2 separate regions of the Homo sapiens genome follow, and region 2 is linked to region 1. The links are contacts of gene promoters, found by promoter capture Hi-C in human tissues and cell types (Jung and others, 2019). All regions are on one chromosome and are shown on one strand. Each heading gives the region's core, a stretch centred on a gene start or on the middle of the fragment in contact. The rest is flanking DNA. Distances are from core to core; before and after follow the strand shown. Region 1 holds the start of UCN (urocortin). Region 2 holds the start of ZNF513 (zinc finger protein 513).

The links. Contacts are between HindIII fragments. The study calls those that stand out against the background at their distance.
Region 2: the fragment with the promoter of ZNF513 here is called in contact with the fragment with the promoter of UCN in region 1 in 1 of the 25 tissues and cell types used here (adrenal gland).

Annotation. Positions count from the first base shown.
Region 1 is chr2:27,303,518-27,311,165 of GRCh38, forward strand. It overlaps UCN (urocortin), which reads right to left and starts at 4,928. Exons shown (of 2, transcript NM_003353.4): 1 at 4,643-4,928; 2 at 3,883-4,391. The coding sequence starts at 4,378. The coding sequence ends at 4,004. It overlaps TRIM54 (tripartite motif containing 54), which reads left to right. Exons shown (of 9, transcript NM_187841.3): 4 at 1,442-1,537; 5 at 2,067-2,300; 6 at 2,563-2,585; 7 at 2,696-2,820; 8 at 2,939-3,025; 9 at 3,370-3,918. The coding sequence ends at 3,024. It overlaps MPV17 (mitochondrial inner membrane protein MPV17), which reads right to left. Exons shown (of 8, transcript NM_002437.5): 8 at 5,975-6,464. The coding sequence ends at 6,395. The HindIII fragment of the contact is 27,300 bases long and covers 1-7,648 here.
Region 2 is chr2:27,378,131-27,385,778 of GRCh38, forward strand. ZNF513 (zinc finger protein 513) reads right to left here and starts at 2,604. Exons shown (of 4, transcript NM_144631.6): 1 at 2,342-2,604; 2 at 1,963-2,118; 3 at 337-924; 4 at 1-241. The coding sequence starts at 2,396. It overlaps PPM1G (protein phosphatase, Mg2+/Mn2+ dependent 1G), which reads right to left. Exons shown (of 10, transcript NM_177983.3): 4 at 7,617-7,648; 5 at 6,543-6,958; 6 at 5,822-5,962; 7 at 5,236-5,470; 8 at 4,346-4,475; 9 at 3,996-4,098; 10 at 3,069-3,675. The coding sequence ends at 3,469. RefSeq lists an enhancer at 346-1,216 and a silencer at 2,357-2,576. The HindIII fragment of the contact is 10,400 bases long and covers 1-5,887 here.

The DNA.
Region 1 (7,648 bases), core at 3,678-6,177:
CCAGCCTGGGCAACAGGGAGAGACTCCGTCTAAAAAAAAAAAAAAGTTTCCGGAGACCGTAGGTTAAACTAGGATCCTAGGAGCTAAAGCAGTAAATTGCGCCACCTGGCTTTCAACAGAGGCAAATGCAAATACTGCCTAGAGGAAAATATGCACAATTTAGGCCCGTAGGTATTCCCTAGATTAATTAATATCAATAAAATATTAGATCACAATTGAAGGTGCACAGAGAAACGTAATCCATGAGTGAAGTCAGCAGAAACAAAAAATACAGATTTAGGACCCCCCACAAAAGCAACTGAGATATTGGAATTATTAAATAATTGGAAGTCACTATAAATCAAATGCTTTTTAAAAAAAGATGAAAAATTTTAAAAACCAAACAATAATAGAATATCAAAAACCAACCATGTAGCTGGGTGTGGTGGCTCACGCCGGTAATCCCGACACTTTGGGAGGCTGAGGTGGGAGGATCACTTGAGTCCAGGAGTTGGAGACCAACCTGGGGAAATGTTGAAACCCCGTCTACAAAAAAATATAAAAAATTAGCCGGACGTGGTGTCATGCGCCTGTAGTCCCAGCTACCTGGGAGGCTGAGGTGGGAGGATCACCTGAGCCTGGAAGGTCGAGGCTGCAGTGAACTGAGATCGAGCCACTGCACTCCAGCCTTGGTGACAGAGTGAGACCTTGTCTCAAATATATATATATAGATAGATAGATAGATAGATAGATATAGATATACAGATATATATATATATATAGATAGATAGATATAAAACATTCAACAGATGGCTGGGCATGGTGGCTGGAACCTGTAAACCCAGTGACTAGGGAGGCTGAGGCAGGAGGACAAGGCCTGGTGTTCGAGACCAGCCTGGGTGACAGAGCAAGACTCCGTCTCAAAAAAAATTTAAAAAAAAATCAACGAATGAATTGAATGATAGATTTGTCTGAAAACAGAACTAGTGACCAGTATGAGAGGACTGAAAGAAAAACAGAACGTGCAGTTCTGGGAGATGATGAGAAGGCTGAGAGTGAGAAGGTCTAACAGGTCTAATCAGATTCCCAGAATGAGAGGATAAAGAGAATAGAGAAGAGGCAATATTATGCCAATGGATAATCTTGAAGACTTTCTCAGAATCGATGCAAGAAATGAATCTACAGATAAAGTATCTAGCCCAGTGTCTGGTATCTGGTGGATGTTTGGAGACTGTCTGTTCCTTCCCCACTTAGTGGTGGAGGGCTTCTCTCCACCTCCTTCCAGAATCACTAGAATGTGCTTCCGTACCTCTTGATGGTTCAAGCCTTCTAGATTGCTGTAGATGCCCTTATGGGGGGTGAGGTGGAAGGGCCAGCCCTCTCCTAGGCAACCCTGGCTGGGGTGAGGGGTGTAGCTCTAGGCCAGGTCCCAGCTCTGAGTGCTGACCTGTGTGTGTATCAGAGTGAGCTCAGCGATGGCATCGCGATGCTGGTGGCAGGCAATGACCGCGTGCAAGCAGTGATCACACAGATGGAGGAGGTGTGCCAGACTATCGAGGTGAGCCTGGGCTGGAGGGAGGGAGGAACAGCAACTGGCTAGCCTGCGGACCCCGGGCTCCCAAGAGAACTGCTCCTCTCTGACCTCTCGCCAAACTGGTCTGAAAGTTTCTGGGGTCCTGGGAGTGGTGGGAGGTGCTTTTGCCAGGCTGCTGGGTGTGCATTCCAGCTTTGCCGCAAAACTTTAATCCAGTTATTTAACTTCTCTGTGCTTTGGTTTTGTTTAACCTCATAAAACAGTGATGATGATAATGATACACCAGCTACCTCATGGGTTCTTTTTGAGAATTAAATGGAATAATGCAAATAAAAACCAGGGCTAGGGATATAGACAGCAATCAGTGAAGCTACTTTAAAGCATTGTGTTTTTATTATGGAAAAGATCTGGGCTGGGTTCTGGCTCAGCCACTAACTCACAGTGTCACTACGGATGGGTCACTTTCTGTGTTGGTTCTCTGTGAGTACCCTGTGCTTTCCCAGCCACCGGGTCTCAGCCACGCCTTCCCTCATCCTTGCTCCCCATCTTTTAGGACAATAGCCGGAGGCAGAAGCAGTTGTTAAACCAGAGGTTTGAGAGCCTGTGCGCAGTGCTGGAGGAGCGCAAGGGTGAGCTGCTGCAGGCGCTGGCCCGGGAGCAAGAGGAGAAGCTGCAGCGCGTCCGCGGCCTCATCCGTCAGTATGGCGACCACCTGGAGGCCTCCTCTAAGCTGGTGGAGTCTGCCATCCAGTCCATGGAAGAGCCACAAATGGCGCTGTATCTCCAGGTGGGCTCTAGGGGAGGGTGGCAGCGCTGCACAGTGGCTGGAGTCAGGGCCTTGGTACCTGGAGTCCCGGGTTCAAGTCTTGTCTCTTGCACCTGCTTGCCCCTACGACCTTGGGCAAGTCACCCCCTCTGAGTTCGTTTTCTGCTTAACGAATTGGGACGTGCCTTCCCACCTACCCCGCAGGACTGTGGTGAGATTCAGAAATGGGACTTTGCCCAGGTTGGCCCAGTGCTTACTCTCACCCTCCTTTTCTTCCCTGCAGCAGGCCAAGGAGCTGATCAATAAGTGAGTAGGCATAGCGGGAAGGGAAAGGAGGGGGCTGCACTGCTCCACTGGCTGGGGTGGGGCTTGAGAGTGCTGGGGCATTGCCAGCTGAGTCCGTGTGGCCACTGCAGGGTCGGGGCCATGTCGAAGGTGGAGCTGGCAGGGCGGCCGGAGCCAGGCTATGAGAGCATGGAGCAATTCACCGTAAGGGTGGAGCACGTGGCCGAAATGCTGCGGACCATCGACTTCCAGCCAGGTGAAGGAGGTGGCCGAGGGCCGCTGAGACGGGTTCGGACCCTCTGTGTGGGGGGTGCGGCGGGCACGATGGCCGTAAAGGCAGGGACTCCACCTCACCAGGCCTTCCTTGGGCTCAGGCGCTTCCGGGGAGGAAGAGGAGGTGGCCCCAGACGGAGAGGAGGGCAGCGCGGGGCCGGAGGAAGAGCGGCCGGATGGGCCTTAAGGTGAGAGCCGCCCGATGGGCCTTAAGGTGAGAGCGGCCTGAGGGGCTTGGGGTGGGGCCTGGCTGGTGTGCTCGCGTCCCCTCCCCCAGTGATTGCCCTCCCTGCGGGTAGCGTGGAGCCCCCACTCCTCGGTGCAACCCAACCCCGGAGCCACAAAGGCGCGCCCCCTAGGGCGGAAAAGTACACTTTCCTCCTCACCCGCTGTTCCTCTGGGGTGCTGGGAGGGCAGGCAAGGCAGGCTGAGTAGAGGAGAAACCCACGTGGCGGGGGACGGAGTGAGCGGGGCTCGAGCTGCCTCGTGCCTTCGCAGCACCCGCCCACCGAGCCTTCTTTCCCGGGCACAGGCCTGCGCCGACCCGACCCTGCTCGAGAGCCCGCGCTAGAGTCGGGGAGGATCTGCGCAGAGACCGCAGCATCACCCAAATCGGCGCCGGCCCCGGGAGGATCTCAATAAAGAACTCGAGCGTCCCAGACCCGTATCTCCTTTCGCTGCCCAACCCCGCAGCCTGGGCTTCGAAGGCGACCCGCCCACCATCCTGCCCTTCCCAGAACCTGAGACCGTCTGGGGGGCGGAAGCCAAATGAACCCCTATTGGGCACCTCTGTGATGCCAGGAGCGAACTGGTGAGCCCAGCGCCCTGGGAAGAGGGCCGAGGGCGGGGCGGTGGTGCCGGGACCTCTGAGGTCCTGGGGATTTGGGGACCCTTGGGGTCCACATGCACCTGGCTGACCTGGCTGAAAGCCGCTGTCTCGGAGCCCCCCACAGCATTTTGTTCCCCTCCCGCTGGCCCGGGGGCCCCACCTTCCCACGGGTTCCCACGCTGCTGTGACTGCCCTGCCTCTACGACAAAAGCCAACGGGTCTTCAGTACTTTTATTAAAAAATAGTCACGCAGACAGTGCCCTGGTGGCTCTGCCCCGCATCCCAACTCTGGGGTGGGGGAAAGGGGTCAACGTTTTCGCAGCCCCAAACCGGGCCATCACTTGCCCACCGAGTCGAATATGATGCGGTTCTGCTCGGCGCGCTCCCGCTGGCTCTGCGTCCGCGCCAGCTCCAGCAGGGTCCGCAGCAGGTGAAAGGTGAGGTCAATGGACAGAGAAGGGTTGTCCCGCCGCGGCCGCTCGCCTGCCGTCCCGAGTCCCAATCGGCCGGGCCCCGCGCGGCGCGGGAAGCGCTCCGCCAGCAGCAAGAGGAGCGCGCGGGCCCCGCCACCCTGGTTCCGTGCCCCGGGGCTCCAGCGCAGACTCGGGTCCTGGACCCCGGCCGCCTCGGGGCTCCTCTGGCTGCTCCCAGGGCACAGCTGTACCAGGAGCAGCAGCGCGGCCAGCAGCGCTGCGCGTCCCGCCTGCCTCATGGTGCCGCCGGCCCTGGACACACAGGGGCAGCGCAGGGTGAGGTGCGCCTGGGACAGCTGCAGGCCGCCGCTCCCCTCCCCGCGCTCGCCCGGCGACCCCTCCGGCCGCCGCCCAATGCCCGCAGCCTGCCCTCCAGCCCCAGCCACTGCGCCAGTGCTGTTCCATCCCTTCCACCCAGCCTCCCTCCCCGGAGGAGCGTGGTGGCTGAGCTGAGCGGAGTCCTGGTGCAGGGGGAGGCTGGGCGGACGCTCTGAGCCACTCACAGGTTGTCGGCGAGCGTCTGTACGGTCCAAGATTGAGCTCCAGTCTCTGTCCCTCGGGGCAGGCTGAAGACGCCTTGGGGAACACAGGGTCTGTCCCGGGGCTGTCGCCAGCCTTATATAGTGCCAGGACAGCTCCGACTGACGTCAGCGAAGAACATGCACTGATTGTAGAAGCAATGACAGCCACAGCTTCGAGTCTGACGGCTGGCGGGCCCCCGGAGGGGCGCACCTCCCTACACCAGCCTTCGTGCCCCTGGGGCTAGCGCTGGAAGCAGCACTGGACGCAGGAAAGCGAGAAGCCGGCTGGGGCGTAAAGACTGCTCTGGGACCCACGGGAGTCCCTCGCCCCGCTTAGAACAGCCAGCAATGACTAGGGCCGTCCCCAGACCAGACTAGTCCGGGTCGCGTGTTCTGACACACGAAAGGGAGGCGGGACCGTGAGGCTGTCCATGGTGCTGACCCCGTCCTCTGCCTCTAGAAGTGGCCAGAAATGTGAGAACGCTGTGCCGCTGGAACCCACTGCCTCCCTGCAGCTATCAGTTCTGCAAATGCAGGCATCAGGAGTCCACCGCTGGCACTCAGCCAACACAGTGGGACCCACTGAGAGGCAGTCTGCCACAACCAAAGTCTCCCAGCATTCTTATCTTTTTCCAGCCCCAGGATCCAAATTGTAGGGCTGTCTGACAGGCACCATGTAACAGAGGGTCTCTAGCATCCGAGTGCTTTCAGACCACAAATGGCTGGCCCATCTGCTTTTGAGTTTGCCAAAGTAGTTTAGCAAAGTTCAGTTTCTCTCCTGGGAATCATAGCAGCAGTGTAACTCTGCCCATGAGCAGCAAAGAAATATGGGTTCAAGTTTCTGCTAACTCCTGGTGTGGACAGGTCACCTCCCTCCTACCAACCTCAGGGTCCTCATTTGTAAGACTGGGCTTGGCCAGGCGCGGTGGCTCACGCCTGTAATCCCAACACTTTGGGAGGCCGAGGCAGGCGGATCACGAGGTCAGTAGTTTGAAACCAGCCTGGCCAATATGGCGAAACCCCATCTCTACTAAAAATACAAAAATTAGCCGGGCGTGGCGGTATGCGCCTGTGGTCCCAGCTACTCAGGAGGCTGAGGCAGGAGAACTGCTTGAACCCAGGAGGCGGAAGCTGCAGTGAGGCAAGATCGCGCCACTGCACTCCAGCCTGGGAGACAGAGCAAGACCCTGTCTCAAAAAAAAAAAAAAAAAAAAAAAAAAAAATTGGGCTTGGTGGTCTCTTGGCTTCTTTCCAGCTCTAGAAATGACTCCCCAATAGTTTTCTGCTTAAAAACTTACTCATTACCACTGCAGATTCCGGATTACATATTTAATAACATATTTACTGAGGCACCATATAAAGGGTTCCGGGAGTCTCTAAAGAGCTGGAGCTACAAGAAGCCTAGGCAGGGTTAGAGTAACAAATGTGTCTATGAAGAGTGGGGATGAGTGGCATTTGCTGGGATATGGGTGTAAAGTTGATAAGGTCATGAAGGTTCAACAGATATTTATGGAGTGCCTAGTATGTGGTGGGAATAAGACTATTATCAAGGGCTCTAAAGCAGTCAGTGTACATTTTAGAGTGAAGAGGGGCATTGCAGGGTGCTAGTCCTCTTAAGCTCTGACCGGCAACCCAACCCCGTGGAAACTGGTATGCCCACTTTGAGGAGGTTGTCTGACCGTTCCAGGGTCAAGCTGCATCACTGCAAGGTGGAAACGATGGAGTGAGGCAGGCTTAGAGCCGATGTGCCTTCCAGGACAGGTAGGAGTTCCAGATAACAGCAACACATTGGACAACGGCCAACCTAAGGAACAGGAATAACACAATGAAGAGGAGGAAGGCTAAGCAGTGAGCAAGGGCTGGAGATGGGAGCATGAAATGGCAAAGGAGGGATCATGACAAAGGATTGGCAGGTTTAGGTCTCTTTCCTTCAGCACCTTTTTTTTGAGATGGAGTCTCCTCTGTTGCCCAGGCTGGAGTGCAGTAGCACAATCTTGGCTCACTGCCTCCCGGGTTCAATCAATTCTCGTGCCTCAGCCTCCCAAGTAGCTGGGACTACAGGTGTGCTCCACCACACCTGGCTAATTTTTGTATTTTTAGGAGAGACAGGGTTTCACCATGTTGGCCAGGCTGGTCTCGAACTCCTGACCTCAAGTGAGCCACCCACCTCGGCCTCCCAAAGTGCTGGGATTACAGGTGTGAGCCACGACACCCAGCCCTTTCAGCACCCTATGAAGGGCCTGTGTGGCTTGCACTAAAGGACAACTGGCTCAAATTCTAGTGCCATCCCAGAGCTCTGTTTCCTGGCTGAGAGCCTCAAAGGCTAAATATTCAGCGGCTCTCTTGCCATGCATAGCTCTGTTAATCACAGAAAGGGCCCCTATCTGGGCCCCTTCTAAGTTCATTGATCTGTCTTGTACCAGCTGAGATTTCATCTTCCGAAATGTACGGACTATCATATAAAGTAGCATCTTTCTGTTTTAAATTAACCTTGCTCTGGTTTCAAAGAGTGTTGCAAAGGACCCTAATGTTTAGGATTTGGTTCATAAGTCTGTATTCCTTTTTTGTTTTTTCGGGTTTTTTTTGAGACGGAGTCTCGCTCTGTTGCCCAGGCTGGAGTGCGGTGGCAAGATCTTGGCTCACTGCAACCTCCGCCTCCCAGGTTCAAGCGATTCTCCTCCCTCAGCCTCCCGAGTAGCTGGGACTACAGGCACCTGCCACCACACCCAGCTAATTTTTGTATTTTTAGTAGAGACAGGGTTTCAACATATTGGCCAGGCTGGTCTCGAATTCCTGACCTTGTGATCCACCTGCCTCAGCCTCCCAAAGTGTTGGGATTACAGGCGTGAGCCACTGTGTCCAGCCTTTTTTTTTTTTTTTTTTTTTTTTTTTTTTGGAGACAGGGTCGTCTCACTCTGTCACCAGGCTGAAATGCAGTGGCACAATCTCAGTTCACAGCAACCTCCATCTCACAGGCTCAAGTGATCC
Region 2 (7,648 bases), core at 1,354-3,853, 72 kb after region 1:
CCCCCTCCAGCCTCTCCTCGCATGCAGCGCCCACACATGGCAGCTCCCAGCCGACTACCCTCACCCTCCTCCAGCTCTTGTCCACAGCCCCGGCAGGTCCAAGGGAATAGCAGCTCTGGCAGTGGTTCTGATCCAGTCCCGCAGAGGCCCTCCCCTTCACCCCGCAGCTGCCCACAGTCTGGCAGGAAACTGGCACCACCTGGTGGCACATGGAGGCTCAAATCTGGAAGGAGCAGAGCATCTGTGGGGACAAAGACCTGGGCTATGAATCCAATCCAAGCATTCCTAGGGTCAGCCACCCATGTCCCAAGATCTTTGGTCCCTGGTGTGTCTTACCTTCAGGTCGCCGGGGCACCGCCCCCTCCTGCTCTGTGGGACTGGGAGGCCGGGCTGGTCGTGGAGTACAGCAGCGGAAGCCACAGGTCGGGCAGGGAGGAGTGGGGGGCCCTGCGTGGGTACGCTGATGCCGCCTCAGGTTGCCCAGGCTGCTGCAGGCAAAGGGGCAGTGGGGACAGCGGTAGGGCTTCTCGCCAGTGTGGGTGCGGGTATGTCGTGTCAGGTTGACGAGCTGGGCTGAGGCGTAGGGGCAGCGGCCACAGCGGAACGGCTTCTCTCCGCTGTGTGTCTGCATGTGCCGCTTCAGGTGGCTCGAGTAGTGGGACACGAAGGTGCAGAGGCGGCATGAGTACAGTAGCCGTGGGGGCAGCAGGGGCCCCCCACCCGGCCCTCCTGCCCCACAACACGGCCCCTCACCTGTCGGCCCCCCACACAGCTGGCAGGCTGGGCCTGGCCTCTCACCCCTGGCCTCCCCTGGACCCCTGGCTGGCTCCTCAACTTCACTCTCCGCACTTAGTGCCCGGCCGCCCCCAGACTCATCGTCGCTCAGCCCATAGGGAAGCCCAGGCCTGGCCCCCAGAGAGTCTCCTGGTGAAATAGACATAAGAAGAGACATCAGCATAGGGTAGGATCAGGCTCCAAACTCTCCCCTTTTCACTTATGGTCTCCCCACTTGCTTGGCTCCACCCTTAGCTTTGATGATCCCTTTAGTTCCCTCCTAGGAATCAAGGTCTCCCCTGCAGTAATTCCAGAAAATTCAACATGAATTGTCTACCTCTTACACTGGACTAATCTAGTGATGGTAGAATTGACCTGTATCTAGTTTCCCTCAATGGTCAAGGATCAAGGGCTCACAGTGGATCACAGACTGAAATGAATCCATAATGAAATTAATTCTTGAGACAAGAAAGTAAAAATACGAAAGGGAGAGAGCCCCCAAGACCTTTTTCTAAGCTCTATTGCTAAGGCCCCTTTTAGTAAGGAGCTGATATAAAATAAAACCTATCTCTGAGGCAAAATTTGGAGGGAAGTGGAGACAATGAAAGTAATGCATGTAATACCACTTGCCTGCCTAAAGAACAGATATTTACATGGATCCCCTCAATGACTTTCAAAAAACATCTTGCATAAGTGGATGGGTAGTGCAGCAAATTAGGGTAGGGTGATGCTAAGATCACAGGGAAGAGGGACATGGAAGGATAAAGACAGAAACTAAAACCTCTCAATACAAAAGGAGCTTACGCTGCAGGTGAAAGGGAGTTAGATTAGACCTAAATACTGGGTTGAATGATTTACAGAGAGTTTGCTTCCCTGAACCTCTCTTAAAAGTAAATACACATAAGGAATGGGCTAGGGAGAGAGACAGGGCATTTACTTTTAATCAGTTGCTCCATGTGATTCACCCACCCTCCTATTCCTATCACCTTTGACCAGGCCTCAGAACTTCACCTCAACAAAGTGATGGAAGTGATTGGACCATTAAACAAATGAAGTCATCTAGCTCAAATGTAAACTAAACCAGCCCTCGGTTGTGGCAGGAAATGGTGTTCTGTTCACCTAACCTGCCTCCTGAAGGGCTGGGGTCTCCAGCGGCCGCTAATCCTTAACCAAGACCCGAAAACCCACCTTCCGAGTCTCTCTCGAAGCCCATGAGCTGGTCACTGTTGCCGTCGCCTTCCTCCTCTTCCTCTTCCTCCTCAAACTCCAGATCCTGGCCTAGTAGCAAATCACTCTCCAATACCAGGGCCCCGGGTCCTTCGTCGAGGGAGTCTTCAGTATCCACTGAAGAGGGGAGGGGGCTTGTGGATTCTCCCTCAGGAACCAGCCCTCGTGGACCACACTTCCCGTACTCGCTGACCCACTCTGATTCCCTTAGTGCCTCGGTGGGAAGCTAGGAGTCTGGATCGCCCACTTCATCCCTCAGGAGTCCCCCTCCACCCTGACCTGAGCCCACTCCACTGACCCCACCCCCGCTCCTCTCCCCTCAAGGCCCCTGACCCCTGACCTTTGACCCCCTCGCATTTCACGGGCTGCGGGTGGCTTTGCTTCCTTCGGGGCATCGTGACCGGCTCCAGCCCGACGCGCCTCCGGCCTGCGGCCGCCCGACCCCGCCCCTCCTATCTCGGCCCGCCTGTCTGCCCTTCCTCTCAGGGCCCGCGGGCCGCCCCCATGCAGCGGCGCGGGCCCTGGGCAGCCCCCGGCCCTGGCCCCGGCGCCCAGCTCAGGCCGCTCCCGCCGCCGCCGCCGCTTCCATTCATGGAGCCCCCTACCCCCCTACGGAGACCAGCTGGTACCTCCGTACTCGCTTCCGCTTCCGCCGCCGCAGAGACGCACGGGACGCGTAGTCCGTGGGAAGCGGCCGCGGCGGGAGCCTCAATGGCGTGACCGGGAAGTGATTGTGACGAGGCGGGGAGCAAGCCAATCAGCGGCAGCGGGGAGCCGGCCAGGGAGCAGCGCAGGAGGCGTCCTGCCCGACTCCAGGCTTCAGGCCAGCCAGACCGGTCCCAACCTGTCCCTGGGGGAACTAGATCATTTCTGGCTGCAGGAGGGGGCGAGGGGCAGCCGCGACGCCCGCCAGGCCGGCCTACCAGCAGCTCGCTCTGGGCTCTCCTATACACGCGCAGGACACACACGAGCACACGCACACACTCACATGGGGGCTCGCCACATGCTACAGATGGGACCAAGTCGGGGGCCACGGCAGCAGAAAAAAAAGGACACGATGCGTACGATTAGGTTTTGGCCTTTAGTCTGAAAAAGTGTTGATTGAAAGTGTACAACAGAGAGCGGGTGCAAGCGGCCGAGGGCCATGGAGCCGCCAATAAAAAAGAATGTCCTTAAATAAAGTTCACAGAGTAAAAACCAGAACCGCCAGTCCTTCCCTCCAACACAACAGAGCACAGGCACAGAACCGGTGATGAGCCCGAGGAGCAGAGGCGGCTGGGAAGGACAGCAGAGGCTCCCGGCTGCAGTGTGGAGGGAGAGCCCTCTTTGGAATGGGCGGAGTGAAGCCACCCAGCTCCCCCTGCACACCTCATACCCACTGCTAAGGCTAAAGGAAAAAGACAAAACTCAGTCTCAGGTCCGGAGGGCTCAGAAAACAGTCTAGGTGGGCAGGGGTCTGGATGACTGCTAGTCTCGCTTGGCCTTCTTCTTCTTGTCGCTGTTGCCATTTTCTTCAGCCCCCTCAGTAGAGAGCACCTCCTCTAGTTTTCGCTTGCCACTCTCTGGCTGGAGCTCTGCTGTGTTTCGGGGCTTGAAGCAAATGATGATGCAGGTCATGTTGTCACACCCTGTACCATCCCCAGAAGTGTCTGGTGCCAGGCACTGATCCAGCAGCTAAGAAAGGGATGGGGGTAGCTCAGCCACAGGGTTTGAACACCTTGCCAGGAATCTACAGTCCCACAAGAGGGCTGGCTTGCTGAGTCAGGGTGGTAGGAGAGGAATGGGCAAGAGGTATCACACAACGGCCCACCTGCTAGTCCATAAGGCATAAGGCTAAGTCAGGGAAATGACAGAAGGTGGAACTTTGGAGTCGGGGTTTAGCGTCTGTCAGCAATTACTGATAATGCTCCCAGATTGCCGACTTAGCTCAGATTAAAAGAGTGAACCCTGGCTGTGCAGACCAGACACCCTCTCTTCTCCACCCTGGTACTCACCTCTTCCACAATGGATGACAATAACCGAAGCTCCCCATTTTCATCACGCTGGCTGATCTTTGATTGAATGAAATCTACAACTTCCTGGCTGCTCATCACATTCCTGGGGTCAAGAACAACAGTCAGAATCTTCCAGTCTCACTAAGGCAGCGTAGAGGAGTATGGACAGAGGTGGTGGCCCAGGCCAGTGTAAATAACTACAGAAATTCTCAGCTCTGCCTTAGTCTGGGTGCTCTTCACCCACCAAGAGGCCTAGGTCTGCCTAGGCTCTAATCCTAGAGGTGCCCTGAGTCCTATAAGAGAAGACATGCTGCAGAAAGGGGAATTTAGGGCATTCTGCCAGTGCTCACCAGATGCCATCACAGGCAATGACCATGAATTCATGGTCGTCAGTGAGAGTCAGCACCTTGATGTCAGGAAGGGCTGAAATCATCTGTTCCTCAGGTGGCAGGTTCTTGTTTCTCTTATAGAAGTGGTCCCCTGGAGTAAAGGAATGGTTGATGAGCAGTTTGGATACTTCCCACAGACTTGTGTTTGTGGCAGGTCAAACCTTGCCATTCATTTCCCTTCTTTACAAAGTTCCATAATCTAGTGGAATGGGGAACTGAGTCCTAAGTCCTAGTTTTTCTAGTTTCAACCCTGCCACCAGACTGCTGAACCTTAAGAAAGTCACTCACTGGTCTTTTTATTTTAAGTCTTTTTTGTTTTTTTTTTTTTGAGACGGAGTTTCACTCTTGTAGCCCAGGCTGGAGTGTAATGGCACGATCTCGGCTCACTACAACCTCCGCCTCCCGGATTCAAGCGGTTCTCCTGCCTCAGCCTCCTGAGTAGCTGGGATTACAGGCTTGCACTACCATGCCCAGCTAATTTTTGTATTTTTTTTTTTTTTTAGTAGAGATGGGGTTTCACCATGTTGGCCAGGCTGGCCTCGAACTCCTGACCTCAGGCGATCCACCAGCCTCAGCCTCCCAAAGTGCTGGGATTACAGGCGTGAGCCACCACGCCCGGCACTCACAGGTCTTTTTCATCATTCAAATGTTACATAAGATGGGTATAATGATACCTATGTATAATGATACCTCTACCCATCTTAGTTATTTCACAGAAATATAAGAACAGAGGTAGTAGATATTAAAGTGCTTTGAAAGGCACAAGCACTAGGAAGATTAAAGTTTGCTACTAGGTAGTCTGGGACAGAGAGAAAGACCCTAGAAGTCTTTCCCAGTTTCTTGGCCCTTACCAATGGCTCTGGAGAGGTTGAGGCCCCCGTTGACTCGCCCATCCATGGTGACCTTGCCACCAGCATTCTTGATGCGTGCTAGTTCTACTTCATCCTCTGGTTTGTGATCATAGGACATGTCTAAAGCTTTGCCAGCCTCAGATACCACACAGCGAGAGTCTCCTGCGTTGGCTACAATCAACTGCTTCCCTCGTATCAGGGCCACCACCGCTGTTGTACCACTGTCAGAGCCAGGCTTAAGAGGAAGAAAAGGAGCATCATGGGGGCTTCTGAACATGCGTTCCTCACTGATGTGCTCCTGATCGTTCACCTATGCTTGCTTTCACTGGGACCCCCAAAAGAGCTTTAACAAACAGGAGAAGCACACATTTCATCTTTCTAGAGACAGCAGCACACTCCCTCTCCCTTGTTTTTAGATAATTCAACCCCAAAGGCTTACCATCTCATTCCCCTTGCAGAATAAATCCCCATGACTATTACTTCCATCCTAAAGTATCAGGGGGATCCCCTGTCTCAAAATCAAAATTAGGGGATTCACACCTGCCTTGTGGCTTTTCAAGACTCATTGCTCCCCTTCCCCACACACCTCCTCTTTGCCTTCCATCCCTGGCACCATCATCTCTTCTTCTTCTTCTTCATCGTCCTCTTCAGCCTCCTCGGTGTCATCCTCATCTTCCTCATTCTCTGCCTCCTCACTGCTGTAGCCATCCTCTTCCTCGCTGCATTCCTGCCAGGGGGAGGATCCCAGACTGCTGAGACTGGGATGATCCCCTCCCTCCCCACAGCTCATACTCAGAATCAAGAGGTCCTGACTGAACACAGGTCCTCAAAACACTGAAAGATACAAGTATATGGTCATGAAAATTGGGGGGATGGAAAGGGCTAGCATGAGTACAACTGACATCCTGAACTGGGCTTAGCAGTCACTAGCAAAAAGCCCAGGACAAGGCAAGGGCTGCCAGCCAAAAATATCTTTCAGGCACTGTGGCCAGAAAATAAATTTTCCAGAGAAGAAAACAGTCAACTAGCCAAGGTAACAACTATCTCCTTGTTCTCTCTCTAGGAGACAGACTCTGAAAAGCCAGAACTAGATCTGCTTGTTATAGTACCAACAAAGGAAGAGGTAAAAAGGCAAATGGTACCTGTGATGATGGAGCTCAATGAATTCAAGACTAAAGCTTAGAATACAGTGGGTCTTGGGGGATGATGTCAAAATAGGAGAAGGAAAGAGAGTTGAAAACTACAGACGGCAACCAAACAGGACCTCTCTGCAACTTCAGCATCTGCCTGCCCTCACAGGCCCTTACCTCACTGTCTTCCTCTTCTTCCTCCGCCTCATCTGACTCATCCTCACTGTCCTCAAAGAACTTGGACTTAGCAACTCGAGGCAGCTTGTCAGAGGCTGAAGAGCAGGAAGGCCCAGCCTCACCAGTGGGAATGCCAGGCTCACCAACTTGGCCTGCCTCAGTCCCACGTTCCGAGTTGGAGGAAAAGCCTGTGTAGGCCTTGGCTGTGGGGCCATTTTCTTGTGAAGGAGTTTCCCTAGTTGAGTCCTCAGGTCCTGCCTCCCCATTGAGGCCCTGGGACCCTGGTTCCTCGCCTGTCCCACCTCCAGATTTGCTGTGGGGAGGGCCCTTGTGACAGTTCTGCCCGTAGCGTGTCAGCAGCTCTTCAATAGTCATGGTAGCCTCTTCATGCAGCAGTGCAGCCTCCTCATTGTCCACTGCAGGGAAGAGGCTAAATCAGAGCCCCCATGCCAGACTCCTCATGGGATCCGTCCCTCTCACTACCTCAACAGCCCTTGCAGCCTCTAACTTCCCCACAACCTCCCACTCCCAAGGTTCCTCTCGCTCAAGTCTCAGAAGAACATGCCCTAGCTCCTCCTCCTCCACAGACTTCTTTTGGTTTTTGTGTTTCATCCCCTTCTTAATCAAAACAACACTAGTTACTATACTTCCCCTCTGACGTCTCATTTTTTATTGTTAAGTTGTAAAAACCCTATTCTGGCTGAGGATCCAGGAAGCCCACAATGCTACTGTGAATTAGGATTTAGGCTTAATGATTGGCTATTGGGGCTAATAACTGCTCCAGTCTTGAGGGGAAAAAAAAGCACATAAATACTAGCAGGAACCAGGAAGACCCCATCACAATGACAAAAGATAATGTATATACAATGCTTACAGCTCAGATGCCACTCAACGAAGATAATTCTCTCCCTCCTTTTCATAACCACATACAATGCAGGAGAACATCATAGGTTTCTTTAACATAAGGACTCCCCAGGTCCCTAGAAAGCCATCCTATCTTAGAATTGATAAGTAATATTAAAGAATATTTCTTAAAATGCTGATTTCCCCTCAAACAAGGGATGCCACACTCACCATCATCTTCATCAGCTACTTTTTCTTTTTCA